Regions from separate parts of the Homo sapiens genome. Here regions 2, 3, 4, 5 and 6 are each linked to region 1. The links are contacts of gene promoters, found by promoter capture Hi-C in blood cells and fetal thymus (Javierre and others, 2016). All regions are on one chromosome and are shown on one strand. The core of a region is centred on a gene start or on the middle of the fragment in contact, and the rest is flanking DNA. Distances in the headings are between cores, read along the strand shown.

Region 1 (4,820 bases), core at 646-3,145:
AAAGGATTCCTGTCTATTCTGCAGGGAAGAATTGTCTAGATTATTACCACACTCTCCACAGAGAGGGTCTCAGGCCCCAAGTCTGCATTAGGGCAGCTGGAGAAACCCCTTTCAGAGAGCAGCTCAATGTGGAGACAGCGACCCAGAAGCCCAGAGGCAGCCTAGAGAGCTAGTCCGGGCAGGGTCGGTGGCAGCTAAGGACTAGGAAGTCAAGGCAGCCTCTGCTTCCACCACCCCAGCTTCTCAAGAGGATACTTGGAGGAGGGAGAGGTCCCAAAGCACAGATCATTTGACACTCTCCTCAACCTGCCCCACTCCCCACACGTGCCGTTTATTCAAGCCATCACAGAAAAAGTGATGGCAAGAAGAGAAGGGAGGGCAGTGGGAGGATGAAGCATGGATTGGGGTTCACTTGGTCAGATTGTCCAGTGTTGAACAGCTTGGGGAACTGAAAGGCAGGCACCTCCAAATGACAGTGGAACTGAAAGGCAGGCACCTCCAAATGACAGTGGCCAAGCCTCACATGCACAAAGGAGTTGCAGGGCAGAGCTCAGGAAGAGGGGGGAAGGCACAAGATGCTTTTTATGGCATCTTGGACCTTGAGAGTTCGCTGCTGACATAAGCCTTACTGGAAGCTGCCATCCTCTGCACACTGGGGCACGTAGTCTGCTTGCTTCAGAAAGGCCGTTTCCCTCTGCAGCTCACAGGGACGAAGGGGCTGGGCATCCACCTGGTACTCTAGGAAAAGAAAAGTGGTTCATCAAAGAAGAGTGTGGACTGGGCTGCCAGGACAGAGACGGGCTCTCATAAGCACAGATGCTTTTCCAGGGTCATCATCATTACCTATGACAGCCTATTTTAAAATTTGGCAGCTAAGCACACTTTCTTACAAGTATGACATTAGCTCATTTAATGTGCAACATTCTCCTAAGAGGTGACAGGCAATATATCCTTGTCACTCATGAGGCACCAAGTCTCAGGCAGCGAAAGTCGTCTGCCCAAAGTCACGTAACTGGCAAGTGAAGGATCCCAAAATCAACGCTGGGACTACACGTTCCCCGCCCGCCCCCACCCTGCCGCAATTCCCATGAGGCTATTTGGAGTAAGTTAGAGAACCGTAAGGAAGTTCTTCTTGAATCTATCAAGCCATGCCCTGCAGATGTAACATGTTCCAGATAAACATTGAAATACCAATTAATTAATAATGTACATGACTTATTTTTCCATTGAGAACTCTTGTAACACATAGGGTCCTACCCAGAAATCACAACCGCATCATGAGGTGTGTGTTATTTGTTTACTTTTTAAATGAAAAAAAAAAAAAAAAAACAGAAGCTTGGCACTTTGCCCGAAGTCATATGGGTAAGTGGCTGAGCCAAAGACAGAACTTAGGGCTATTTCACTTCATAGGTAGATTTCTTTTTCTACTGCTTCTAAAATACCTGTTATGGATGACACAGACTTTGGAATAGCTAAGGGGATAAAAACCCAAGGTCAATGCCAAAAGTTTGCCAAAATGGTGGGGTGAGGAGGACCTAGAATTGAATTAGGAAGATCAACCACATTTCCCATTTCTGCTCCATCAATCACTAGCTCTGTGACCTCAAGTAATTCAGTTCGGCTCTCTAAATCTGCCTCTTCATCTGAAAAAAAAAAAGCAAATCACTGACATGTGGGAATTTGTGAAGATTAAATTAGATCGCACCTGTTCGAAGGCCCAGGGCAGAGCCTGGCTGACACTGGAGCTCCCTCCCCACCGCCTGGCTCCATGGCCTCAGAACTTACCGAAGATATTGGCCGACACCCAGCAGATGGAGGCCAGCAGGGTGAAGATCTCCAGGACCAGGGCCATTTTCCTGGCCCTTCCTGGGAGGAAGGAGGAGAAACCACTGCTTGCCCTAGGTCCCCTGGCCAGGGAGCTTTTATAGAGCTGCCGTTGGCACTTTCCTTCCCACCCCCAGGTCCTCAGTGAGGCAGTGCCCCATCCTGTTTTCTCTGCTGGTCAAAAGGAGCTCCCTCCACCTGTGTCTACTCCTCCTGAGGGCACTCGTGTGGCCAGTGGAGCATGAGGATCTTGTCTAAACTGTGGGGGAACAGAACGGGGTGGGGTGACTTCAAAATCCTTTTTTATGGGTAAAGACCAAAGCTCTGTATCTTTGGAGGGAACAGGCTCAAGCCCACAGTGAGGGAAAAGCAATCCTTTGTTCTTTCCTTCCCCACCCTACCCTTTCTCCTTCTCCTTCCTCCTTCCTTCTTTCCTTTCTTCCTTTCTTTCTTCTTTCCTTCCTTTCTCCCTTCTATCCTTCTTTCCTTTCATTCTTCCTTCTTTCTTTCCTTCCTTCCCTCTTTCTTTTCTTTCTTCCTTCTTTCCTTCCTTCCTTCTTTTCTTTCTTCTATTCTTTCTCTAACAACCTCTTAGAGCTCCACAGTAGCAGGCACCTAATCTAGACAATGAGGATATGGCAGAGAACAAAACAGGCAAAATCGTGCCCTCATTAATATAGACTGTGAAAACTTTGGTGAGGGAAGCAAAATACACACACACTCATATTCATATTTCTATTACTTTCCTCTCTTTCCTAGGACCTCAGACTTTGTCAACCAAAAGATAGCAGGAACTGTGTATTCCACAGAAAGCCTGTATGTCCATTTGGTTTCTCCTGGCAAACATGGCTTCCTTCCTTCAGTCCTGTTCCTGTGAGACCTGGAAAAACTCACCTCATCTCCCTGAGCCCCAGCCTCCTTCTCTGGAAAGCAAAGTTAAAAGGAGAATAATAATATGTCCCTATTTGTTAAGGTAGTTGTAAGAGAATAGACATTGAAGAGCACATGCTTATTAGACACTAGCAGTTATTATTATTATTATTGATTTTCTTATTTTGCAAAAGCATCATGCCAGGGAATGGCAAGTATTCAGAAGACCAATCCAGCCAGGTAAGGAGCTAGTGACAGATAGGGTCAGGAACTGGCAGGTAATGAGGGCAGGTTGCTGAGCCTGGCACCTGAGGAGAGATGGAGGGACCTGTGAGAATCTGGAGGATATGGTCCCGGGTAGAGTGAAGGGCAGGAGGACAAGCTGGAAAGTGGAAGAGACTCCAAACCCTGGGGAAAATAAAGGGGCCGATATAGCTGCCGTGCCGTAGACTGTACTACCTTCCACAAATAGGGTTGCTATGAATATTAAATGTGTTAAAATATGCAAAGTGCTTAAAACAGTATTTGACACATAATAAGTATCCAGTGTTAGCTACTGTACTAGTCTGCTATGGGTGTCATCACAAACTATCACAGACTGGGTGGCTTAAGTAACAGAAATTTATTTTCTCATAGTTCTGAAGGCTGGAAATCCAAGATCAAAGTGTCAGCACTGTTGGTTTCTTTGGAGACTCCTCTCCTGGGCTTGCAGATGGCCATCTCCTCCCTGTATCCTCACTTGGTCTTCCCTGTGTGTGTTTGTGTCTTAATATTTATTTCTTTTAAGTACACCAGTCATATTGGATTAGAGCCCATCCTTGTGACCTCATTGTGCACTTAATTACCTCTTTAAAGACCCTACCTTCAAATGCGGTCACATTCTGAGGTCCTGGTTTTAGGACTTCAGCATATGGATTTGGGGGGAGAACACAATTCAGTCCATAACAGCTACTGTCATCATTGTTGGGTTCCTGATATAAACTAGAGAAAGTAAAACACAACAGTCATTTGAAGTGTCAGGGTATGGGATTAAAAACAGGGGAGAACCCGTGCTCTGCCCGTCCTTCTTGGGGACCACACATGCCTGGAACTCCCACATCTCTCTCTAGCTCAGTCTCCAGCCAGACTTTTTTGAGCTCAGATCCACTCTGCCTGGACACCCTACAGGTATTTCAAATTCAACATATCCCAACCTGAACTCCTCAACCTTTCTCCTGACATCACCCCATTGGCTGTCTCTGTGATAGTAAATCCGAGCCCCATCCTAGGCTTCTCCCCTCAAGTCTTACCAGCCTCCAGGTCCTACCAGGCTGCTGCTCATTTCTACTTCCTTGGTCCTCCCCTCCTCTGCATCCTCACTCTTCCTGCCTCCGTCACATCCCTACAGCTCAGAACGAGCCAGCCAGAACAGCCTGCTGTACTGCTCCTCACCAGGGCTTCCCCACCAGCTGCAGGAACAGTCCTCTAAAATATGGCCATCCATGTCACTTTGTAGATTCTACAAAAAGAGTGTTTGGATCCTGGTGAATCAAAACACTGTTTCCATTCTGTGATATTAAACAGCACATCACAAGGCTGTTTTCACGGGTGGGGATGGAGACTCAGCCAACAGATGCTCAGGAGGTGCCGTGGCAGGAAGATCAATTCACCCTGGGGAGTGGGAGGACAACTTGGATTAAGACCTAGATGTTAGGTAAAGGTGAGCTGGGGAGTGTATTGGCATTTACTGGAAAAGGCAATACAAGAGGAAGAACTCACCTGCCTGACTCCCTGCTACCTCATTACATAGGCCAAGTTCACCCCAGGCTATGGAGAGCTGGCAGCATCCTTCTCTCTACAGCAATATAATAAGCACAGCATTGTGCAGCCCCTGGTCATTTCTCCATTTCTACATGTTCTAAAGCAGAAAAGTCTTAGAAAAAATTGAATGTGGTTAAAGATTTACCATAAACCTCACTCACCACTCTTCCCATTGCCCTAAAATGCATGCATAAAGCTTGCACAGGTTGGCCTGTGTGCTGAATCATTCTTGCTGGCCTGGCCCCTGAGAAGCAACCCACAGACCCATGCCAGAAGTGTCTCTGCTTCACTGGGTTTGGTGCTTTAGGAACTCTGGGCTCAGGGTT
Region 2 (4,820 bases), core at 1,073-3,572, 610 kb before region 1:
AATATCTCTCACGCAGAGGCAGGACATTGTAGGAAACCTGACCTCTCATCCAGAGCCTTGTTTGATCAACACGGATCAACAGTCATCTGTTTCAGGGAACTCATCTCTGCCCTGGCATTAGGGGTGCAGAGGCACTAAGGGCAAGGGTGTCCTAGGCCCTGCTCATTATAAAGGCAAATGTAGTAAGACCATGGCATTCCTCTGCTCAGCCCCACCAGCAGGTTTCTATGTCACCCAGAGAAAACTTAGTCTTGACTGTGGCTTCTCTGGCCCAACACACTCTCACCCCAGCTGCATGCTCAGATTCCCCCTCACCCCCCACCCACTCCTCTCCTCCACACTGTGTCTGATCCAGCCATACAGGCCTCCTTTGCTCCACAGGGTCTGGGGCCCTATTGATGCCTGGGAGGCGCCTACCTTAGATCCTTTTACGATGCACCCCAGCCACCTTGTCCAGGGCCTGGAGAACGCAAGGACCAGCAAATATGCAGTCAATGAATGAGATGAATGGACAACCTTGATGGGCTGACGGCCCCGAGAAATGAGCAGAATTTGTGTTATCAATCCGTTTTTCCCATTGAAGGGATGGTTCGGAAGGGCTAGGTGACTTGTTCATGGTCACGCAGTGAGTAGTGTGGGACAGGCTGCTGAGAATGGAAATGTGACTCAGAGTCTGTGCTTTCTTTCTCAGTTCTCCCTCTGGACTGTTGGCCGTTTTGTTTCCCTTCATTCATTTCTGGGTTTCTTCATGACCCAAGCCTCCACTGAGCATTGAGTGTGTGCACGGGTGACAGGGTCACTGCCATAGTGAGGCTGAGTTTCCATCCTCACATTGCTCCCAGTCCAGGGAGGAGACATATGTGTGAAGAGCACAGACAGAGTGCAGCCAGGACCCTAGGGAGCCAGGAGAGGCCCCTAACTCACCCCAGGAGAGGGCAGGGCTTCCTCCAGGAGTCAGCACCAGCTGAGCCCTAGAGAATGAGTAAGAGCCATCGGCAAAGCAGGGTGGGGTGGTTTTCTGGACAGTGGGGACAGCCTGAGCAGGGACACGGAGGTAGGAGCAACTGTGACCTCTGGGTCAGTCACATTGCTTCAAGTTACAAATAACCTACTTTACCCCATAAAGGGGATTTATTCCCTCATGTAACTGAAAAGTCAAGGTGAGGGTGGGGCTGCAGGTTGAGCAGGATCAGGGATTTAGCACCATTTGTTCGGGTTGTTCAGCTCTAGTCTCTTCTACACACGCTAGCAAAATAGCCAGCAGGATGTTCCACATGTCAACAACAAGCCAGCCAGAGCAAAAGAAAGTTTCTTCCCTCCCTACAGAAGCTTGGCTGGATGAATTAAGGCACATGCCCATCCCTGGATCAATTACTGGGGTAAGAGGTGGGAACCCTCTGCCAGTCAAGTGAATTGTGAGCCTATCTGTGATGATGCAGAAGTTATTCTTACTTAAATTACAGAGCTGCTCCTTGATGGGGGCAGGTGGGGAGAGAATTGGATGGGATACCTGTGGACACCACTAGGTTATAAACAAAATCTAGGTTGTCATGAAAAGTGAAAACTGGAGCAGAGACCGGATAAAAATGACGTTGCCAACTGAGCTGCAGAGCTCAGACCTTGTCCTCCATACGTTGGGCTTCTAGTTCTGGAAGCTGTAGAGGGTTGCACCCTATGCATCTTGGGCCCTGGATGTCTTCAGAAGGGCACTGTGGATTTAATATGGTTTTGGAGCTGTCCCCCTTTCTACCAAAAGGTGATCAATCTCCTTTCAACTCTAATTTTCCTGGAAAAAAATATACCCTGCTTATTGACAATCTACACCTTGAGAATGGGGAGGAATCGATCAGATTTCTTCCATTCTTCAGCATTCCAAGCAAAGACCAAAAAGACCACGCTCCAGGGCAGACGTGCAACCACAGTTGTACCATACAGAAATCCCAAGGTGTCGGTGAGAGCCAGAGGGGTCTCCGATGGGCATTTGAGAGGTACCTGTTTGCCTTCTTCAAAAGAATACTCCCCCCTTGCTCTATATCCCTCCAGCCGTAGTAATCTGAAGACCAGTTAACAAGACAGGTGTCTGCTCCAGGGTAGAGCCCCCCAACCCCCTGTTCCTGGTCCCCCAACCCCTCCCGATGTAAGGAATCAGAGGACTGTGGATTTGGACTCGGATCCTGCTCCTTCCTTTCCTTAGGCAAGTCATCTAAGCACTTTGAGTCTCAGTTTCTTCCAAGACAAAAAGGGAAACTAATATCTAGCTGACAGTATATTCTGAGGATTATCTGAAGAGATACGTATGCATGAATATCTCATCCTCTCAGCTCTTAGTGGATCATCAGAGAATATTGATTCATTCACATGTTGAAGAAGAAAAATTAAAGTTCAGCAATGGCCTAATAGATACCAGAAGCCCAGCATACATCATTTTATCTTATCTTCATAACCATTCTATAAGTAGGGGTGTTAGTATCCCACTTTGCAGAAGAAGAAACTGAGGGTCAGGAAGGTCAAATAACTTTCCCAAGGCTCCACAGCTGGGAAATCAGAACTTGAACCTGGACCATCTAAAGCCCCTTTTTATGGAACTGAGGCCAATTGGCAGAGCTTGAATGCCCAGGTAAAAGGAACCCTGGGCCACTCTCTAAGCATACCATTGTTGTTGTGCTTGTTGCTGAAATCCAAAATCTGGAAGAGAATGAAGTAGAGAGAAAGGCAAATAACATGCATTTAACAATTCCTGTGTATATTGTACCTACATGCATCACGAGCTCTTTGACAAATGTTTGTTGAGTGTGTCAATGTGCTAGGTTCTTGTTGGAAACATGGAGGGGACACCTTCTGCATCCCATAATAACCTTGCAAAGAGATGATAACATCCATTGTATGCACGCACTCAGGCTCACAAAGGTAGATAAACCATCCAGAGCCACCTGCCAGGTTGGCATGACACCAGAAGGAAGACCACGGAATACGTCCTGGTGGAGATGTGGAGAGAAACATTTTTTATAGCAGGATCACAGAATCTCACGCTGTTTTCTTCCTCCTTTTCTTTGCAGATGACAGACAACCTTCTGTGCCTTCATCAAGCTGGTTGTGTACCCACCATGTCCCTGGCGACAGGATGGGAAAGAAAAAGCCCTAATTAAGGATCGTCAGAAACCACAGTTGGAGGAGGACGGCAGAGACAGTTTCCCTCCCCGCTATACCAACACCCTTCCTTCGAGGTCCTCGCTCCTGAGGGACCCTGGACTGTCACAGAGATTAATGACCCCTTATCTTCTTTGGATGTGAAAGGAAATCACTGGTTAAAGCTTGATCGAGAGACATTATCAGCTCTTTAAGGATTGCAGAAGAATAGGCTACTTTATTTTCTGAAAAGGTAAATATATGCAAGCAAAGCCAACATGCCACGAATGGCGTTGGTCTACCACACAGCCGTGTCTGGGACACAGTTGGGGGTCATCCCCCAGCAGGAGTGAAGTCGAGCTTAGCGGCCCTTGTGTCCTCCCTTGGAATTCCTGCCATCCCTTTTGATTGAGCCTCCACCTCTGGGATTTTTCTTCCATTTTTCTCCTCTCTTAGGAGGGAGTTCCTGCTACCCATCGTGGGAGGCCACCATCAGGACTGCGAAGATGGTGACCCTGCGGAAGAGGACCCTGAAAGTGCTCACCTTCCTCGTGCTCTTCATCTTCCTCACCTCCTTCTTCCTGAACTACTCCCACACCATGGTGGCCACCACCTGGTTCCCCAAGCAGATGGTCCTGGAGCTCTCCGAGAACCTGAAGAGACTGATCAAGCACAGGCCTTGCACCTGCACCCACTGCATCGGGCAGCGCAAGCTCTCGGCCTGGTTCGATGAGAGGTTCAACCAGACCATGCAGCCGCTGCTGACCGCCCAGAACGCGCTCTTGGAGGACGACACCTACCGATGGTGGCTGGTGAGATGCTGCCTGAGAGCGGGGTCTGGGCTGAGAGTTGGGGTGTGGACTGAGAGTGGGGTCTGGGCTGAGAGTGGGGATCTGGATAAGAGTGGGAGGCCTGGGCTGAAAGTGGGAGTCTGGGCTGAGGGTAGGGGTCTGGTAATGAGAGTGAGGTGCTCTCAGAGTTAAATGCTCAGTCCCCGTGTACACCTGGGGCCCTGCCAGGCAGTTAGTAGGATTCAGATTATTGTCCCACACTATTTATTGAGGATCTATTATATCTAAGTCAGAGCAGGAAGCACGGCTTTAGTTTCCTGTGGCTGCCATAACAAATTTCTGCACAATTCATGGCTCAAAACACCAAAAGTGCATCCTCTTGCAGCTCTGGAGGCCAGAAGTCTGAAAACAAATTATGGGCAGACTTGGCTCCTCCTGGAGGCTCTGAGGGGGAAGCCGCCCCAGGCCCGCTCCTGGCTCCTGCCAGCTGCCGGCAGTGCTGGGCGTTCCTGGGCTCAGAGCTGCAGCAGTCCAGCCTCTGCCTCCACTTCCACAGGGCCTTCCTCCCTGTATCCCTTTATGTCTCACATGTCCCTCTCCTTTTCTTATGAGGACACCTGTCATCAGGTTTAGGGCCCACCCTAATCCAGGATGATCTCATGCAGAGATCCTCAACAATTTCACCCACAGAGGCGCTTTTTCCAAATGTCATGCTCACAGATTCCGGTGACTAGCACTTGAACGTATCTTTTTGGGAGCCACTATTTCACCCACTACAGCTATTGAAATGCAAAAAGAGAGAGAGATCCTTATTCTCATGGAATTTTATTCTGGCTGGGAGGGGAAGATAAGAAATAAACAAGGTAGGCTCACACAGAAGTGCTTTGAAGACAGATCCAATGA
Region 3 (4,820 bases), core at 773-3,272, 590 kb before region 1:
CCAGATAGCACGTCCTCTCCCTGGAAGCCCCTCCATGCAATTCCTTCTGGTCATCTTGTACTCATTTTCCAAGACCCAACTCACATGCCACCTCCTCTGAAGAGCTTCCTCTGACCTCTCAGGGCATAGCTCCTCCCTCCTCTGTGCTGCGGGAGCCCTGAATTTAGCCCCATTTCCAACAAGGACCACTCAGTCAGTGACTCCAAGAAGCTATAAGCTCCAAGGCTGCTTCCCCCTGCAGCTGCCCAGCTGGCATCTGATCAAGCTCTGCCTGAACTTCAGTACAGCCAGCAGGGTGCTGGGCTCAGAATAAATGCACAGGGTTTGTCATGTATGTGAAAGGCCTGGTCTAGTGGCCCTGAGGGCGCCTGGACCAGATGAATGTTGGCCACAGAGAAGAAAGGGATCAGCCCTGCCCTCTGCCTCACTGCAATCATGATTCTTGGACCCATTTTCCAGATGAGGAAAGTGAGGCTCAAAGAAGTGACTTCACATGCCCAGGGCACCACGGAGTGGCAGAGCTGGGATTTGGGGCAGTTTGCTTGGCCCCAAAGCCCTGCTCTCCTTCCACTCTCTTCCATTCCACGCCCTCCTTCCTATTCCTTCCCTCTGTAGCTCCTCAATCCTGGGAGAATAGGTTGCACTTGCTGCAGAGGTAAGACCCGGGCCCCTGAGACCACCCAGATGCAGTAATCTCTCAGGGTGCTTCTGGAATTAGACTTGAGTTTTACTTAACTTGCATTTGCTTCACCAAGACTCTGAGAGTTCCAGGAACGTAGAGAAGGGTTTTTAATGAAGGGTTAGTCAGAGTCCTTGGAAATGCTGTTTATGGTCCTGTGGGATTCCAGGAACGCCTACAGGCTTCCTTTCTCAGAGGTGCCACCAGCAGCCCTGCTGTCTGGTTCTCATCTTTGCTTTGCTCCCACAGGTGGACTTGTACGGCTTCGGGGCAGACAGCAAAGGGAACTGGCACCACTACTGGGAGAACAACCCATCCGCGGGGGCTTTTCGCAAGACGGGGGTGCACGATGCAGACTTTGAGTCTAACGTGACGGCCACCTTGGCCTCCATCAATAAAATCCGGATCTTCAAGGGGAGATGACGCAGTGAAGGGCTGAGGATGGACGCACTGTCACACCTCTGCATTTCCAGCCCCAGCATCTTGCTGGAGCCGTTCCATCCCGGAGCTTGGAGGGGCAGCCTCAGGTGTGTGCCTGGGCACCGCTCACAGCCTCTTGCACCCAGCCGTTGGCAGCATCTACTCAGCAAGGTCACTAAGCTCTGCCAGCGTGGCAGAGCATGTCTTGGAACCTGTCTTGAGTGGGGACAACGTCCCCCCACTGCTGCCCTAGAGCTGGGGAGACGCTGGGAAAGGTTCAACCTCCACACACTAAAATCATTTTGGCTCCTGGGGCAAGCTTGGGGAATGAATGTGGAAGATGCCTATATTCTGAGAGACAGGACAGTTTCCCAGGAAGATGGGCAGAGACTTGAGTGGCGATTACCTCCAGCACAGAGACGTGCCAGGCGGTGTTGGCGCTCGGGGCGAGATGCTGCCCTTCTTTGCACGAAGCCTGGCCTCTTGCTTGGCGTGATAACCCTGTCATCTTCCCAAAGCTCATTTATGAGCCACCAGAGGCTCCTACCCCAAAGATTTTCACAGAAACTTGAGGCCAGGTGCCGTGGCTCACACCTGTAATCTGAACACTTTGGGAGGCCGAGGCGGGAGGATCACTTGAGCCCAGGAGTTCAAGACCAGCCTGGGCAACATAGTGAGACTCCTGTCTCTACAAAAATAAAAGATTTAAAAAAATTAGCCAGGCACGGTGGCACACACTTGTAGCCCCAGCTACTAGGGAGGCTGAGGAGGGAGGATCTCTTGTGCCTAGGAGTTCGAGGCTGCAGTGGGCTGTGATCACACCACTGCACTCCAGCCTGGGCAACAGAGTGAGACCCTGTCTCTGAAAAAAAAAAAAAAAGAAAAGAAAAAAAACCCCAAACTTGGCACCGTGTTTCTGACTCCTGCAGATGCCTCTTCCCAAGCAGTTGTTCCTTTGAGTAGTCAGTCTCATGGTTCTAATCGTGGCGAGAGCGGATCTGACCACTTCCATGTGCCTTTGTATTTGGGAAAGAAAAGCATGCATTGGCTGAAATGAAACAAAAGCCCTTACTTGGGAAAAGGGACCCCCACCAGCGGCCCTGCTTGCTCCGTAGCTGGGAACATCTTTTCTGGTTTCCTGAGCCAGCACCTGAATTGCAACGAAGCTCTGAGGATACTCAACACCACCCAGCAGTGCGTCAGAATGGAACGTACATTCTCATTCTCAGACTGTTCAATATGGTGCCCGTAACCTCCAAAGCCACACAGGAGGCTGCCAGCAGCATTTTCCCCAAGGGCCTGAGCTCAGGGTCAAGTCCCTGCTGGCCATCTTGGGGCTGTCACTGGGGGTCTGGGTCAAGGACATCCCAGGAATGGTAACTGCCACATACCTCATCTTCTTACTCCCCAGCTACTCTCTTTTCCTCATTAGCCTTCCTGATTATTTATTGATTTCTTTTTTTTATTCAACTGACATTGTTTGCACCCTGGCTCTGTTGGTGGTCCTGGTGTTTTAATGAAGCTTGCCTCACCCAGTAGCTGGGAAATTAGGTGGGGGTGCTTAAGGGAGGTTTGTAGGAGTCCTCGGACGTGGGATATTGGGGGTATCTAGGGCTTGGATGGTTTGTGGAATGTCCTCAGCATCCTCCCGTCCCAACCCAACCTTCCTTCTTCCTCATTGTGGACTTGGATTTATTCTCAGGCTAGGAGTCTCCAAAACTCCGTGAAACCTTATTGCTGCTGGGTGTGGAGTGGAGAGTGACAGGAATGTGGGGGACGGTGATTGTTGGCTCCAGTTACTAATGTTTAAGCAGAAAAACCACTTTCTTGTTGAAAATATCCCTGAAAAGGTCGCTGCTGCTTTGAGGAGGCGTGACTTTTTCCTGGTGGAGTGTGACGGAGGCATGGGGCCTGTGCTCCCAGGCTCGGGGGAGCCCCCTCTGCACACGGGGAGGGAGGAACTTGGGGACATCAGTCATGGGTCACAGGTGGCTTCAGGCCATTCACAAGAGTCCCCGGAAGTTGCGTGCCAAGTTTGGTTTTTTCCCTGAATCTCTGCATATGAGCATTTTTCTGGAGAAAGGACCATAGCTTTTATTAGATTCTCAAAGGTTCAGAATGGGGAATGTGTTAAACAAACCGAAAACCTGTTTCAGCTTTAAAATCCTCCAAAACTTTAAAGACTTTTCTTTTTTCTGAGAAAGGCTGGTAAATCACTGAGTCATCATTCAGAACATACAGCCTCGAAGGGCAGAGCTCACACCCATATATGACGTTAAGAGCTCAACAAATGTTTGTTGAGTGACTGAGTGACCCCAGGGGCAGACTCCAGATCATCAGACACTGATACAGAGAGCGATGCTATCTCCTCAACTCTCCCTCTTCTCCTAAAAGCTGAGTCTATATAGGGATGACAGGCTCAGGCTGAGCAGTCGACTTCTCTGGGTTTTGCTGTGTAAGAATAGGTCCCTCAACATGAAGATGTGTCTGCGTCTGAGCCAGATGCTGCCTGGGTCGGTTGCCTGGCCTCCGTCTGGTCTCCCTCCCTCCTACTAGGGTGGTCAAGCTGTGAGATCTCTTCCAGCCTCCAAATCCAGCTTTCCCATTTTACTGATGAGAAAATCAAGGCCACATTGCAGCTGGGTGGGGAGTGGAGCGTGACAGGCACGGGAGAGGACAGCGATTGTTGACTCTAGTTCCTGATGTTTAATCAGAAAAACCACTTTTCCTGTAGAGCACATTTCCTAAAAGGCTGCTGCTGTGTAGGGAGGTGTGGCCTTTTCCTGGTGCAGTGTGAAGGAGGGAAGTGACGGGCAGTCGTGAACTGTCTGGGACAGATAGCACAAGTCAGAGTTTGAGCAAAACTAGGGTGTTACCGGCGCTATGTTGAAATTGTCTGGAGGCGGGCTTTCCCAGCGAGTCTCCATTCAGCATCTGGAAAAAGTGTAACCAGAATGGAGGTGTCTGACTCTCCTGTGCTCTCTCAGCGCCGAGCTCTAGCTGCAGGCTGCCTGGGTGGCCTTCTCACACCCTCCCGTGCAGGAGACTGCATTTCTCTTTCCCACAGCCCAGCAGATAGCTCATTGGCTTAGCAATGGGCACTTAACAGAATCCAGTTGTTGCAGCCAGAATTAAATGCACCAGTCTGGCTTAAACCAACTGGAACTCATCCCTGGGGTGAAGGTGGCTGGGAATTAGACAAGAGTGTGTGTTAGCCAAAAGGCACATGCATGCTGTCAGCAGGAGAATGAGGAGCACTGGTTCTGGGCAGGCAGTGGCAGGGGCTCCCTCAGGCCCCTGATTCCCAGCCCACAGCTCTTTCTACTCTGCAGACAGAGTTCCTTGGAGACTGGCCCTGCATTCAGGCAGGGAGCAGAGGGGTCCCTGCCTGCAGCACCCAGAGCTGAACCTGAAGCTACAAAGATGGGCTGATGAGGTGGCCCATGAGGTGTCAGCAACATCCCAACCCCCTGGGTCTCCCCAGTGAGTCAGGGCACTGATTTGCTATAGCTGGAGCTACATGCACCTCTCCTCCCCTCAGCCACCTTTTAGGGGAGAAAGGAGGGCAGATTTGTAACCTCTGGTTCTCTGCAGGGATCCTGGGCTGGAAGAAAGTTCATAAATGGATGAATGCCTTTTAAAACTCCAGCTTTTCCAAGCATCATTCACCAAAGCATTTGGTTAGGCTTAGAGAGAAAAGCTGGATATGAGAAAATAGAAT
Region 4 (4,820 bases), core at 1,243-3,742, 570 kb before region 1:
ACTCCATCATTGCTCGGTTGCTTAAGCCACGAGGACTTGCCTTGAGTCCACTTTCTCCCACCAACTCCCAAACTTCAATCCATCCCTATAATCTATGAGATCATCCTCCACAAGATGCCATGTGGTTTTCTCTCACTGTTCCAGCCCATTGCCGTTTTCTGTCTTACCTGTCCTGTGCCAGCGCATGAGGTTCTTGGTACCTCACCTCAGTGCATAGTATGCTCTCGGTGGATATCTGTTCCCTCCCTTAGATGATGGAAATAGGGATTCAGAGGGTTGTTGTGAGGATGAAGTGAAGAATGGTCGGTGCTTGTTGCATAGCGAGCACCAAGCTCACTATGTGGTGGCGGTGGAGGTGGCAGTGGCAGCAGTGACATTGTTCATGAGATGAAAAATGAAAAAAAAACAAGACTCAGAAGGCTCAATAACTTCCCAAATTCACAGAGCCAGTGTGTGGCAGGGCTGTGAGCAAGACCACATCTGCTGGATCTCAAAGCCCAGGTGTCTTCCAGCAGCATAGCGGAACCCCAGCAGAAGCAGAAGATGGAGGTATAGCTGACATCTTCTCTTTCTCTCTGGAGCCCACATGTGACCAGACTTGGTAATCCAGGGTAGTGGGATGCCACAGGGGTTGGCAAGCATTTCGTTACCCCAACAGAAGAGGCAGAGGAGGAAATAGGCTGCATGCTTCCTGAGCTGGGCCTGGTGGGGGGTGGGGCGAGGGCAGCAGTATTCGGGTGATCTCAATTCTGTCCTGTGTGAATGGACTGGATGGACAAGAGCCCATTGGCTTGAGGACAGTGGAAAGGAGGCTGGAGAGCTGTCAGCTAAGAAGGGGACTTGCCTCCTGCAACCACCAACAACCTCCCTGCACATGAGTGCCTCAGTCTTGGCTGCAACCTCTGGGGTAGATAACAGTTGGTTTGGCCCTTACCTGAGGATTCAGATGCCCCACAAGAACCTGGGGATAGCTACCACATCTATTCATTCCAGCCAAGTTCATTGGTCTCAGCACTGTAATAGCTGTCAGAGGCTCTTACTGCCCTGATAAAATCCTTGCATTCTCCCAATGGAGATGGCCAAACTAGCCACCAGAAGACAGTGTGACAAGTGACCAAGGAAGAGTACAGAGCCTGAGTTTGCCTAGAGAAGTCATGGAGGACTTCCAGGAGGAGGAGGACTTCCAGGAGGAAGAGGCCATTAGGCTGACATGTGAGGGATAAGAGTTAGCCAAGCACGGAATGGGGAAGAGAGTGTGCCAGGCAGAGGGAAGAGCACTGTGAAGTCCCAGTGCTGAGGGAGAGTAGGGCACAATCACAAGGCAGATGATCTTCGTACCAGTGACCCTGGGAACAAGGGAAGCAGTGGCAAAAGATGGGAGCAGGGGTGCAGGATCCAGGCCCCTTTGGGTCTTTTAGGAAAAATGGGCTTTATCCCAAGAAAACTGGGGGCCACCAAAGGGTGCAGAGTGAGGCCAACAGGGAAATCTTAAGGGCCATCACAAAGAAAAACATTGGAGTGGTAGTTGAACGTGTATTTGAATAACATGCACATTTTAAAAATGTCTTTGCATTCTTGCTCTCAGTTAAGCAACATCCCACAAGGAGCAACTAAGTCAGCACGGGCTCTGGCAGTGAAATATCTGCCTCCACTCCACCCCGAGACTTAGGATGAGGGAGCCCAGGTGCAGTGTCCAGCCTACTTCTCACACTCTCCAGACAGTCTGACTCGTATTGGGATTAAGGGAGGAAGCATGTGTCTCCCCAGATGGCCTGGAGATCCTGCAAAACCAGGACTACCCTGGATCCCCAGAGATGAGGGGAGAGACCGGTTCAGGCACATAATGTGTGTGAGGAATTGAACTGGTTTGGACTGAATCAATTTATAATAGAAAGGCCCGGCCGGGCGCGGTCACTCATGCCTGTAATCCCAGCAATTTGGGAGGCTGAGGCGGGTGGATCGTTTGAGGTCAGGAGTTCGAGATCAGCCTGGCCAACATGGTGAAATCTCATCTCTACTAAAAATACAAAAATTAGCTGGGCATGGTGGCACATGCCTGGAATCCCAGCGACTTGGGAGGCTGAGGCAGGAGAACCACTTGAACCCAGGAGGCAGAGGTTGCGGTGAGCTGAGATCATCCCATTGCACTCCAGTCTGGGTGACAGAGTGAGACCCTGTCTCAAAAAAAAAAAAAAAAAAAAAAAGGAAGGAAGGAGAGAGAGAGAGAGAGGGAGGGAAAGGAAGGAAGGAAAGAAGGGAGGGAGGGAAAGAAAGAAAGAGAGAGAGAGAGAAAGAAAGAAAGAAAGAAAGAAAGAAAGAAGGAAGGAAGAAAGAAAAAGGAAGGAAGGAAGGAGGGAAGGGAAGGAAGACCCAAGTTCAAGTTCAAGCTCTGGGGCTTTTTTTTTTTTTTTTGTCACAAAGACTTGGTCAGGGGTTAGCTGCACTCCCAGGTTCAATGCCCCCCTCCCCCAGGTGGGCAGTGGGCACCCAATAGCTTCGAGGACGGCCAGCTCTATTGTTCAAAAGAGGGCAGTCTGAGATGCCTCACCAATAGCCACCTGGGCATCCCAAAAGAGCCCAAAAGCTCCAGAAGTTCTAACTGGATTCTCTTACAGAAATACAAGGCCATTCCTCTTTCTTTTTGAAAAAAGAGAGAGAGAAAGAAAAGAAAAAGAAAAGAAAGAAAAAGAAAGAGAAAGAAAGGAAGAAAGAAAAGAAAGGAAAGGAAGAAAGAAAGAAAAAAAGAAAGAAAGAAAGAAAGAGAAAGAAAGAAAAGAAAGAAAGAAAGAGGAAAGGAAAGAAAGAGAAGAAAAGAGAGAAAAGGAGAGGTGAGGAGGGGAGGAGAGAGGAAGGGAGGGAAAGCCTGGAGGGCGGGAGAGTTAAGAACCCAGTAGGTGGTTCCTTCTTCCCCCCTCCTTATATATGCAGGTGTATTTTAACAGAATTGCAATAATAGAGGGTGATGTATTTTTTGGATTTTATTTATTGGCTTGTTATTCTATAACCATTACTCTCCACACTGAAACATTTCCCAATCCCCTTCAACAGCAGTGAGCACCTTCATCTAGGAGATACACCTTATTGAACATTCACTGTGCACTGCACTGCATGTGGTGTTATGGAACACAGAGAGAGGCCCTTGGTCCTGGCAGTCAGGGAGTCGGGGGGTTGGTGGGTGCTTAGTGGGGGAACATTATCATTGAATGAACAAGCCTGATAGGAAGGGGGCAGGATGCCTCAGGGACCCAGAAGACACCTCTCACTGCTAGAGGAAGCCCAGGCTGATGGAAGGAGACAGAAGGGCTGGGTGAGATGGGAAGACAGCAGTAGTTAGCCAAGTGAAGAGGCCAGAGAAGGATGTCCAGGCAGGCAGAAAAACACATGCAAAGCCCTTCTGCTCCTTCATTTCCGCCTCTTTAAAGTAAAAATGACTGTACCTCCAGAATAAATTATAAAATACATGTAAATGTTTTGGGAGGCTGAAGCAGGAGGATCACTTGATCCCAGGAGGCTGAGGCTGCAGTGAGCCATGATCATGCCACTGCACTCTAGCCTGGATGACAAAGTGAGACGCTGTCTCAAAAAAAGAAAAAGAAATAGAAAGAAAGAGAGACAAGAAAGAGAGAGAGAGGGAGGGAGGGAGGGAAGGGAAGGGCATGTAAAGCTCTTAGCACAGTTGCTAGAACATAGCTAGTGTCCTAAATAAATAAATAACAAACAGTAAGTAAGGCAATACAAAAGCTACTACTACACAACTTTTTAAAATTATTTCTAACTAGCATTATAAATCATTTTTTAAAAGACAACCTGAAGAATGGGAGAAAATATTTGCAAATCATAATAAGGGCCCAATATCCTGAATACATAAAGAACTCTTGAAACTCAACAATAAAAAGGCAATTCAAAATGGGCAAAAGGTGTCAATAGTCATTTCACCAAAAAAGATATATAAATGGATGACAAGTAATTAAAAAGATGTTCAACATATGAGTCATTAGGAAAATACAAATCAAAACTACACTGAGGTAACACTTCACACCCACTAGAATAGCTATAATAGAAAAGATGGAAACTAACAAGTGTTGGTGAGGATGTGGAGAAATTGGAGTCTTTGTGCATTGCTGGTGGTAATGTAAAATTGTGCAGCTTCTGTTTGGCTGTTAAACATGAAGTTCAAAAAGTTAAACATAGAGTTACCCATATGACCCAGCAATTCTACTCCTAGGCATAAACCCCAAATAATAGGAAACAGGTACTTAAATAAACACATACACTATTCACAATAGCCAAAATGTGGCAACAATCAAAATGGCCAATAGAAGAATGGATAAACAAATTATGGCATATACAGTCATCACCCAGTTTCTGTGGGGAAGTGCTTCTCGGATACCAAAATCCATAAAAACAAAATCCATGGATACTCAAATTAGCAAATTCTTGAGTCCCTGATATAAACAGCTGTAGTATTTGCATATATTGTGATCTATGCTCATCCCCCTGTATACTTTAAATCATCTCTAGGTTACTTATAATACCTAATACAATGTAAATATTATTTAAATAGCTGTTATACCATATTGTTTAGGGCATAATGACAAGAAAATATGTCTGTACGTATGTAGCACAGATGAAAATTTGTCAAATATTTTCAATCTGTGGTTGGTTGCATCCATAGATACAGAATCTACAAATAGGTAGGGCCGACTGTACCATAAGATGGAATATTATTCAGCCATAAACAGGAATGAAGTACATGCCGCAGTGTGGAGGAGCCCCAAGAACATCATACAGAGTATAAGAAGCCAGGTAGGAAAAGTCAC
Region 5 (4,820 bases), core at 1,421-3,920, 550 kb before region 1:
GTCAGTGAGGAATGCAGGAGAGGCATCTCCAGAAGGAAGGGGGCTCTCTCAGGGAGGGAAACACTGGGGAACACACTGGGCCCTGCCTCTATGGCTCTATTCCAGCAACATAGGGGGCCCGCAGCTGTGTGCTGGGACAAGCGGCTGACATCCTCTCATCAGTTCCCAGACACCAGTGCCTTGTGTGTCAGGCTGAGGTCTTTGAAAATCTGGAGACCAAGGATTGTCAAACAAACAAACAAAAAGGCAGTTTTGTGGTTTTTTTTTATTTTTTTATTTTTTTTTTTTTGAGACAGAGTCTCACTTTGTCACCCAGGCTGACGTGCAGCAGTGCAATCTGGGCTCACGGCAACCTCCACCTCCCAAGCTCAAGTGATTCTCCTGCCTCAGCCTCCCGGGTAGCTGGAACTACAGGTGTGCGGCACCCTGCCTGGCTAATTTTTGTGTTTTTAGTAGAGAGAGGGTTTCACCATGTTGGCCAGGCTGCTGTTGAACTCCTGACCTCAAGTGATCCACCCACCTCGGCCTCCCAAAGTGCTGGGCGTGAGCCACCATGCCCGGCTGGTGTTTTTGTGAAACTTATGTATGATTTTTCTTTTAAGTTCAAGCAATACTGTAAAGAAGAAAGAGATCGTAAAAGGTCATCCAAAATCCCACCACCCAGAAGAAAAACTGTTGTTATTTGGTAAACATCATCGCATACAGTTTATGAATGGACCGCAAGTCTTTCCTACCCCGGAGACCCCACAGCAAGAGCGCCTGGAGAGAGAACGGCTGTCTGCCTTCTTCCCTGAGGCATCTCCAGCATCTAGAACAGCACACGGCACAGAGGAGGTGCCGAATACATAGGCGTTGAATTAATAATAGAAGTACTTTGACAAAAATGAGATACTCTAGATCACTAGAGTATCCCTTCAAATTTTAAATTAAAATGAAGAAAAGGAAATATCAATGAAATTCAAGAGAATGCGGAACTTGATAAAAATTTGTACAGCAAAAGATGCTATTTTCTGAATATTTTTTCTACTAAAAATATATGTCAATAGGAAAAACATTGAGGTTGCATTTCTTTTTTCTTTTCTTGATTTTGGCTACATGCTCCAATGTCAAGCAGTGGCATTAAGTTCGCACTACGTAAAATGAGAAAGCCTGTGCCCCTACCTATGTTTATAATATTCCTCTGTTTCCATCACCTAGTTATTGTACTTTTTATTAGTGATTTTTAAAATTACTTGCAGTCTGTTTCCGAGCCATGAGTCTCACGTTTGTTTTGAACTACTTCAACATTTGAATGAACTCAGTGTTCATCATTAGCCTATTTCTGGCGTTCTCTCCACCTCTATGTCCTATGCTGACAGTTGCCTTTCCTGTGTCCCTGGGGTAAGATATATGAGGAGCTAAGAATGTTTACGAGGCTGCAGCAGAGCCAGCGAGAGGTGTGAAATCTTAGGTTGAGCTACCCAAGAATCAGACTCTAACACAGGGATATGTGGCCATAGTTTACTCAGGAAATGATCTCAGGAAGCACCAGGAGCAAGAAAGTGAGGCAGGGAAGAGAACGCCGATGCAGAATGCACCAACGAGCAGTCACAACTGTGAGCACCATGGCTCAGTCCTATTGGGTGTCTCTGGGAGACAGCAGAGAGCTTGACTCAGCACTGGTGGGTGAAAGAGCTGGACGTGTATCCACCAAATCCTATCTGTCATTGTCTACGGGCTGCTCCTGGACTCCAGGGCTCCTCTGGTCTGCTCTCTGCACAGGACGAGCAAGCTTCTGCTCAGACATACATGCAGGTGCTTTGGGAAGGAAGCAACAGGCCGCTGAGGGCATCTAGACAGGACATTGACAGCATCAGCTGCAGGCAGGATGCAGAGAATTTTTCCTAGGTTGCTGTTGCCTATGGGTGAGCATCATATGGGCCCTGATGGATTGCATATCATCCTGTCCCAGCCTCAAAACAACTCTTCCACTTCTGATCATTTTGGATGCAATGGGAAGAGTAACTCTAGCCTAATGGGCTCAGAGACCCTCCCCCCTTGCTAGGTGATGGTTTTCTGGGAGGAATGCTCATTTTTCAGCTTGACAGAGGGAGCCCTGAAGCCAGCTGCCACTGCAACCATGTCCCACTCATGCAGTTCCCCGTCAGTGCAAGTGGATGTCTGTCTTTCTCCTCCATTTTTATGACACTAGAAGTAATCCTTGCCAATTAGGTAAAATATAGGAAACATAAAAATATGCAAAGAAGGAAGAAAATGCACCTGGAATCTCATCAGCCAAATATAAACATTGTAATTATTTTTGTAATTTATCTTTCATATTATTTTTATTGCACATATGTTTTACATGATTGAGGTCATTTTGTACATACAGTTCTCTGCCCTATTTTTTTAACCTAATGCATCTTTGTTGTTGCTGTTATACAGGTTGAACATCCCTAACCTGAAAATCCAAAATTGGAAATGCTCCAAAATCCAAAACATTTTGAGTGTCAATATGATGCCACAAATTAAAAAATGCTACACTTGACCTCATATGATGGGTCACAGTCAAAACTCAGGCACACAACACATAGTTTCTTCAGTGTCCCCAAGGGAAAAAAGATCCTCCCAGCCCTGTTTAGCCATGATGTATCTTTTCTGAGTATGCCCAGATTTTCTCATGAAAGCAAGCACACAAAGGATAATTACCTGACATGTGTGCAGGCTGGAGGCACCAGCAGCAGATTCTCCATGATGCACCACATGGGGCCAAGACCATCATGCATTACTCATGGTTTATTTGCTTATTTTCTGCTCTGTAGTGTAAAGACATTGATGAAAATGTCAACAAGGCCTCCAGATACCCCTATGGATAAGAATGATAAGAAAAAGAGAAAGCATTTATGCTTATAGCACAGAAAGTCAAAGCTGTTGGAGAAACTAGACAATGGTGTAAGTGTGAAACGTCTTATAGAAGACTGTAGTGTTGTAATGTCCACCATATAGAACCTGAAGAAACAAGATGATAAGTCATTAAAGTTCTATGCTGAAAATGATGAACATACATTAAAAAAATAGAAAAACACTAAATTTTTAGCATCAAGCTGAAAATGAAGGTCTCAGTTATGTTTTGAAAAAAGTGGATCTCTCAGCATTGCAGTGAACACATGCCACTTAATAGTATGGTGATCGTGAAACAAGCAAACATCAATCCCAGTGAACTGCAAATCGAAGGAAACTGTGATAATTCAACAAAATGGTTGCAGAATTTGGAGAAAAGACATGACATTAAATTTTTAATGATTTGTAATGATAAAGCATCTGCTGATGATGAAGCAACAGAGAAATTAATTGATGAGTTTGCCAAGGCCATTTCCAATAAAAACCTGATGCCAGAACAAGTCTGTGAAGAAGAATATACTGAAGAAACATCCTGGTTTTTGTGTTATTGCCCAGAAAAATATTGACTATAACTGATGAGACAGCCTCTACAAAAATTAAGGATGCCAAAGACAGAATAGGTGTGTTGAGATGTGCTAATGCAGCAGGCATACATAAATGTAAACTTAGTATGATAGGCAAAAGCTTGCATCCTTGCTGTTTTAAAGGAGTGGATTTCTTACTAGTCTATTATTATGCTAGGCGCTTCCCCAGTTGAGCCTCTGATGAGAACACAGCCAAAGTCACCTGGATTTCAGCTTCATGAGAACCTGAAGTAGAGAGCCCAGCTAGGCCATGCCTAGACTCCTAACTCACAGAACCTGATGTAATACAGGCATGTTAAGTTGTTAGGTTTTGGTAATTTCTTATACAGCAATAAAAATTGTGCATAAAACTTCCAGCAATTTACCTTGAAGGGAAAGAGTGCCCCTTCTCACCTGCCCCACCCTGTCGTTGATGTGGAATGTGGATGTTATCAGTAGGGCTTAGAACAGTGCTTAATACATGTTTCACTGGAGCTATATAAGCTATATAGGCCATCTTGGGCCATGACACCTCGAAGACAGAAGCTATATACTGAGGGAGGCACACAGAAAACAGAAACTTGGGCTCCTGGTGAAACTGCTGTGTGGCCAGGCCAGCCTGGGCTGCATTCCTCTGGGCTTCATTTGCATAAGAGAGAAATAACTTTCCTCCTGTCTAGGAAACTACAACTTGGGGTTTTCTGTTACATGCAGCAACCCCTAATGCTAACTGATGCAAAGGTGAGGTGGGTTAAAAACTCAGTCTTGGAATTGGCTGACCTGGACTTGAATCCTGGTCTGCTATTTTCCATTTGGGTAAATTTCAAAATTCCCTTTACTCCTTTGAACTTGAGTTTCCTTATGTGTAAAATAGAGATAATCATAGTCTCTATTTTGTAAGTTTGTGGTAAGAATTGAAATAAATAATGTAAGTAAAGAGCTGCACACTGCACCTAGTCCAAGTGTTCAATAAATATTAGCTACTATTATTCTCATCTATAGTGTTTGTTTAATAAAATGCATGGAGTGGCTGCTAAATGCCAGGCACTATACTAAGTGGCTGGAGAAATGGCAAAATTCCTGTTCTCAAAGAGCCACAGACTTAAATGAAATATTGAGATTAAACAAATACAACAGTCTAGTAGCTCAAGTGCCATGCTGGGAGATGTGCAGGCTCTGAGGGCACCAAGAGCTCTCACAGTGAAAGGGATGGTTAAAGAAGGTTCCACATAGATTAAACTCCCTAACCAAAAGACATAGATGGACCGAACAGATATTTTTAGAATAGGATCTAATAATATGCTGCCTATAAGAGACTCACTTAAGCTCTTAAGGACACACATAGGCTGAAAGTAAAAGGATAGAGAAATATATTTT
Region 6 (4,820 bases), core at 742-3,241, 520 kb before region 1:
AAAAGCAGTATTGGCAAGGCTATTTGTACCATGTGTCTATTGTAGCAAGGTTTATGTTAGCTGAAAAACAACTAGAAACCTTCTCAGTACAGCAATAGGACAATTATTGAATGAATTACGATGTATAATTGGCTTATCTGTATTTTAAGAGGAGATGGGACCTAAATTTCTGGTCAGTTCTTTCATTACCATTTGTTGGAGTTCAGGTTTTCAGGCTCTTTCTGGGCTAGAGAGTTCTTTCCCGGCTATCTTGCGGCAATTTGAAAGTCTGATATCAGTTTCCGCTGGGTTCCAAAGATCCAGGAGGAGCTTAGTGCTGTGTCTAGATTGCCAATGGACCCATCACAGAAGTTTAACCCAACTTTGATCCCAAAGCCTTCAAAAATGCTCACTGAAGAAAATTCCCAGGACAATTCAGGGCCTCTCATAACTTCTGCTCCGAGACATTGATAAAGAACCTTAAACTTGATTCTCAGCTCTGGTATCAAATTCCCTTCCTCTCTACCAGAAGGTTCACTCCAACAATAGGAGAAAAGAGAAATGATCTTCCAGGACATCAGAGATGGCTTACCTTACAGGAGGAGGGAGTAAGAACATTGCTGTCTGTATGGAAAGAAATGATGCTAAAATGTAGATACGTGTCACTTAGCAGGCTTCCTAGGCTTGAAAGAAAACAAACACTGGGCTTAAGGGAGTTCAGAATGATCAAGAAGTGAACCATTCAAATGTGGCTGTGGTTTCTATGTGTATCATAGATGGGATTCTTCTGAGAATGCTAGAATAGGGAATTATGGCACTGAGCCAATTCAGCCAGAAAGCTTATTCTCATACTTTTCTTTCTTGCTGGCAATTTTATGTAGCAGGTTGAGAAAGCTACTCTATGCTAGAATGGATTGTATACAAATAATTTTGATAATGAGTTCTATGATATATTTTTCTTCTTTTTTTTCCTTCCTACCATGAAATCAGTAATGTATGTAGTGTATGTAGTTTGAATGTATTTGGATAACCTCAGTATACTTTACCTTTACTCACTGTTTTGACCCGAAGAAATACGAAAAGGACATAAGTATTCCCATGTATTTTAGAAGGCTAAAGTCAGTGAGATGAAACCCAATATCAAGAATTTGATGCAAAGTAACTTGTGGGGAAAGAATGTAATGAAAACATTGGGTAGTTTGGCTAGAGCATAATAATTAGATTTTCCGGTTTTCAAAAATTTGGATACCAATGAAAGGAAATTTGATGTGCTATTTTTTTTTTTGCAATATTCAGTATCAAATAAATGTGTGTATAGAGAAACAATAAAATTGACATATTTGAGTAACTTAAAAAAAATAAACTACGATGCATCCATACTATAATTTTATAGCCTAATGTTAAAAGGATTAGGTTAGAAATCTACATACCCTGATCTGGGAATTTTACCTTGATATGTATATTACTAAGCAATGAAAAAGTATGGTATAGAGCATGATACCATTTTATACAGGTGTGTACATAAAAATATCTTTGCTATGAACATAAAAAAACGTGTAGAAAAACGCAATTGTTAATGCCTGTTATGTCAAGAGGGGGGACTAGAAGGAAAAGACGTGTCATCAGTTATAATTAGATTCAGGTTCCTACAACAGAAATCCCCAAAATAAGTGGCTGAGTAAAGAGGAAGTTTAGTTTTCTCTTGTAAAGGAAGTTCAGAAATAGATGGTCCTGAACTAATATGGCTGTAGCTCTAGGTCATCACTCAGGCTCTGTCTGCCTTTCTATTCCACTGCCCTTAACCACGGCCTTCCATCCTCAAGCCACCTGTGGTCTAAGATGACAGTCAGTGCTTGCAACATCATGCCCGGGCAGGAGCATGGAAGAAATAGTTTATGCCTCTTTTAGGGAGCTATCCCAGAAGTCCCACCAACCACACCTAACTGCAAAGGAAACTGGGAAATGTAGTTTTATTTTAGCTGGCCACAGTAACTGTGTTACATTGTATTGTATCATGTTGTATGCTACAGCGTTTGGGCAGCCCAGATAATATAAGAGTTTTATTACTAACCCAGAAATGGATAATGGATGTTGGATGGCCAAATAGCATTCCCTGCCACAAAAAGTTTATCAACTTTTTTTTGAAACAGACTTTCTACTGTTTAGCTAAATACAATGAAAAGTATTTCACAATTTAAAAAATCCAATTAGGAAAGTTTCTTAAAAGAGAGGAAGGAAATAACTTTGTATAAAAGCACTTATCATGAGCCAAGCTCATTTCCTGAGCATTTCACATGCAATCTCATTTCACCCTCACATGATCTCATGGAGAGGTGTGACTGCTCCTTCCCTTTCACAAGAGGAGGAGCCAAGATTCAGAGGGATGACACGGCTTTCCCAAAGTCTTGTCACCAAGAAGCACAGCCAGTATTGAAATCCAGGTGCGCGTGATTCTAAATCCTGTGGGGGCAATCTCTAGGGTCATTTTCAGGAGGGAGGAAAAAAACAGCAATTCATGTATGATTCTAGAATCCCAGATTTGATGGAGGCTATATTCCCTAACCAGATCATTAAGCTGAGAACAGGAAAGTGAATACTGGTGCTTCTCCAGCTGCCTGATCTCTGATGGATATTATCCAGTGGGTAGGCTTACCATGCCAGCCTATTTTTCTCCTTAAGATGTATTCATTTCCCAGCAACATGAATCCATCTTTCTTTCCTTTTTTTCTTTCTTCCTTCCTTGATTCATTTTGTTATTTTTCATGCAAACATACTTACTCATGCAGAGAAAAGGAGATGAAATTTTTTTAAATTCTTTTTTCTTCATTTCTTAACTAATTTAATCTAACTTCATAAGAGGAAGAAGAATAAGCTCAGGGTCTTACATAAACACTGAGCTCCTCTTGGATTTTCATGAGGGTGAATTTATGAGGAAATCATGGAAGGAACCTACAGAATAATATTATCCCAATCAAGATGCAGTCTGCTGCCTGCTGCCTGCTGCCTGCTGTGTGGGGAAACATGAGTGCCTTGGGTATTTTCCTTACAGCACTTACAATTTTAGACAGGACAGAAACAGATGCAAGAAGATATTGCATTCCTTCGTCCTGAGCTAACCTGGGGCTGGATTCTTAGTCTCTCTATACCACCAGAGATACACTGTAGTCCCTGAAACACAAGCTTTTCTCAGAAATACATGAGCTCCCCTCCATGAAGTCTGCTCCATATTAGATCTCTGTTTGTCCCCTCTAAATCCCAACCAAGGCTGTAGTCCTCTCCTCTGGAGTCGCAGAGAAGAAGGCAGAACTTCTTCCCCTCAAGGGTCCATCAAATATTAGCACACAGCTGTCATGTCTGCCAAAGTACATTCTCTAGTGGCTTGGGAGCGTGGAAAGGAGGCAGCCTGACCTGGGGTAGAATCCCAACTTTACTCCCTGCCTGTGGGACCTTGGGTCGATTTCATGCCTCTCCTGATATTTCATCATCTGTCAAAAGGAGAAAGTGAAATTATAGCTTCATTTTTCCTTCTCCAGTAGAGCATAAGTCCTTCAAGGGCCAGGGAAGCTATCTTACTCATCTCTGGACCCATATAAAGTTGCTTTGAAAATTCAGAAAAATAATAACATTGAACAAGGAATGTTTGTCTGTTAGTATCATGAAAAATGATTCCCTTAACCACAGAAGAATTGGCTAGAGACTGGCTTGTGGGAGGCAGCAGGGAAGGAGGGTTACTAGAGAACACTATGAAACCTGAAAGCCCAAGTTCAAACCTCACCCATCTCCACCACCAGCTAGCTGTGTGACCTTCAGCAAATTATCTGACCTCTCTGTACCAGTTTCCTCATCTACAAATGGGAATAAGAATAGTGATTATCGGGTGTGGTGGTTCATGCCTATAATCACAGCACTTTGGGAGGCCGAGGAAGGCAAATCACTTGAGGTCAGGAGTTCAAGACCAGTCTGGCCAACATGGTGAAACCCTGCCTTTACCAAAATATACAAAAATTAGCTGGGTGACAGAGTGATACCCTGTCTCAAAAAAAAAAAAAAAAAAGAATAGTATTTATCTTACCCAGGAGCTGACTCATGCAAAGTGCTTAAAACAGTCTTAATAATAGATTTTATCATCATAGGCTGTTGTGTGTTATTATTCCTGAAGCTGCTGAGGGAAGAATGAGGTCTCACTCTCACCACATTCTCTCCAGGCAATAGCTACTCCCAGAAAACATGGTGCTTCTGTGGCCAGAGCTCAGAGTTTCAAACCAGTGAGAAGTATTGCCAGGACTCGGCCTTCCCCTCCCAACTGTGCCTATGGTGGTACTTCAGGCTCAGACAAAACATCAGTTGAGTAAGGCAAACAGCCTTTCCAACCATTTTTCTCAGTGGGAAAGATGTTCTTGGACTGGATTTTCCGCCCCTCCAGGGCTAAGTCAGGACACTTGAACTTGATGCATTTATTGAGCATTCTGTGCTGTTGGATTATGTATGGCTTTATCTCAAGAAAATCTGCCAAAAGCCCTAAAGGGCAGCTCCTTTGAGGAGCTACACACTATTTATTAAACTCCTACTGAATACCATACCCTGTGTTAGGTTCTATATATACATCACTTTATTCAATTCTCTCAACAGCCTCAGTTGAACGTTGAATTCCATCATTTGATAAGTAATTCTGGAACACATGTAGTACCAGTGTAGTGGGGTGGTTAAGCTGGCGGGTTCTGGAGGCGTCAGCCTGGCTGTGATTTGATGGCCACCATGTCCTAACTCCATCTGGGGCATGCTGACTTCCCCTCTCCAAGCCTCTGCCTTGTCACGGGTAAAATGGAGATACTAACTGGGCC

What was found. Contacts are between HindIII fragments. The CHiCAGO score rates a contact against its expected background, and 5 or more counts as called.
Region 2: a fragment that was not itself captured here is called in contact with the fragment with the promoter of TG in region 1 in 14 of 17 cell types (activated CD4 T cells, non-activated CD4 T cells, M0 macrophages and 11 more); the score reaches 11.0 in activated CD4 T cells.
Region 3: a fragment that was not itself captured here is called in contact with the fragment with the promoter of TG in region 1 in 16 of 17 cell types (activated CD4 T cells, total CD8 T cells, naive B cells and 13 more); the score reaches 29.0 in activated CD4 T cells.
Region 4: a fragment that was not itself captured here is called in contact with the fragment with the promoter of TG in region 1 in 17 of 17 cell types (naive CD8 T cells, naive B cells, activated CD4 T cells and 14 more); the score reaches 20.3 in naive CD8 T cells.
Region 5: a contact is called between a fragment that was not itself captured here and the fragment with the promoter of TG in region 1, in 4 of 17 cell types (activated CD4 T cells, total CD4 T cells, total CD8 T cells and 1 more). The highest score is 8.0, in activated CD4 T cells.
Region 6: a contact is called between a fragment that was not itself captured here and the fragment with the promoter of TG in region 1, in 1 of 17 cell types (non-activated CD4 T cells). The highest score is 5.1, in non-activated CD4 T cells.

Annotation. Positions count from the first base shown.
Region 1 is chr8:132,864,033-132,868,852 of GRCh38, reverse strand. TG (thyroglobulin) reads right to left here and starts at 1,895. Exons shown (of 48, transcript NM_003235.5): 1 at 1,786-1,895; 2 at 630-738. The coding sequence starts at 1,852. The HindIII fragment of the contact is 3,355 bases long and covers 1,338-4,692 here.
Region 2 is chr8:133,474,837-133,479,656 of GRCh38, reverse strand. ST3GAL1 (ST3 beta-galactoside alpha-2,3-sialyltransferase 1) reads left to right here. Exons shown (of 10, transcript NM_173344.3): 4 at 3,057-3,379; 5 at 3,583-3,938. The coding sequence starts at 3,633. Among named protein-coding and RNA genes, the nearest start is that of ST3GAL1-DT, 93 kb to the left of the region's middle. The HindIII fragment of the contact is 1,982 bases long and covers 1,332-3,313 here.
Region 3 is chr8:133,456,046-133,460,865 of GRCh38, reverse strand. It overlaps ST3GAL1 (ST3 beta-galactoside alpha-2,3-sialyltransferase 1), which reads left to right. Exons shown (of 10, transcript NM_173344.3): 10 at 929-4,820. The coding sequence ends at 1,102. Among named protein-coding and RNA genes, the nearest start is that of ST3GAL1-DT, 110 kb to the left of the region's middle. The HindIII fragment of the contact is 1,203 bases long and covers 1,421-2,623 here.
Region 4 is chr8:133,438,938-133,443,757 of GRCh38, reverse strand. No RefSeq gene overlaps it. Among named protein-coding and RNA genes, the nearest start is that of ST3GAL1-DT, 130 kb to the left of the region's middle. The HindIII fragment of the contact is 5,719 bases long and covers 1-4,820 here.
Region 5 is chr8:133,413,089-133,417,908 of GRCh38, reverse strand. No RefSeq gene overlaps it. Among named protein-coding and RNA genes, the nearest start is that of NDRG1, 120 kb to the right of the region's middle. The HindIII fragment of the contact is 1,793 bases long and covers 1,774-3,566 here.
Region 6 is chr8:133,388,204-133,393,023 of GRCh38, reverse strand. It overlaps the pseudogene DPPA3P7. Among named protein-coding and RNA genes, the nearest start is that of NDRG1, 93 kb to the right of the region's middle. RefSeq lists an enhancer at 1,798-2,017. The HindIII fragment of the contact is 2,341 bases long and covers 821-3,161 here.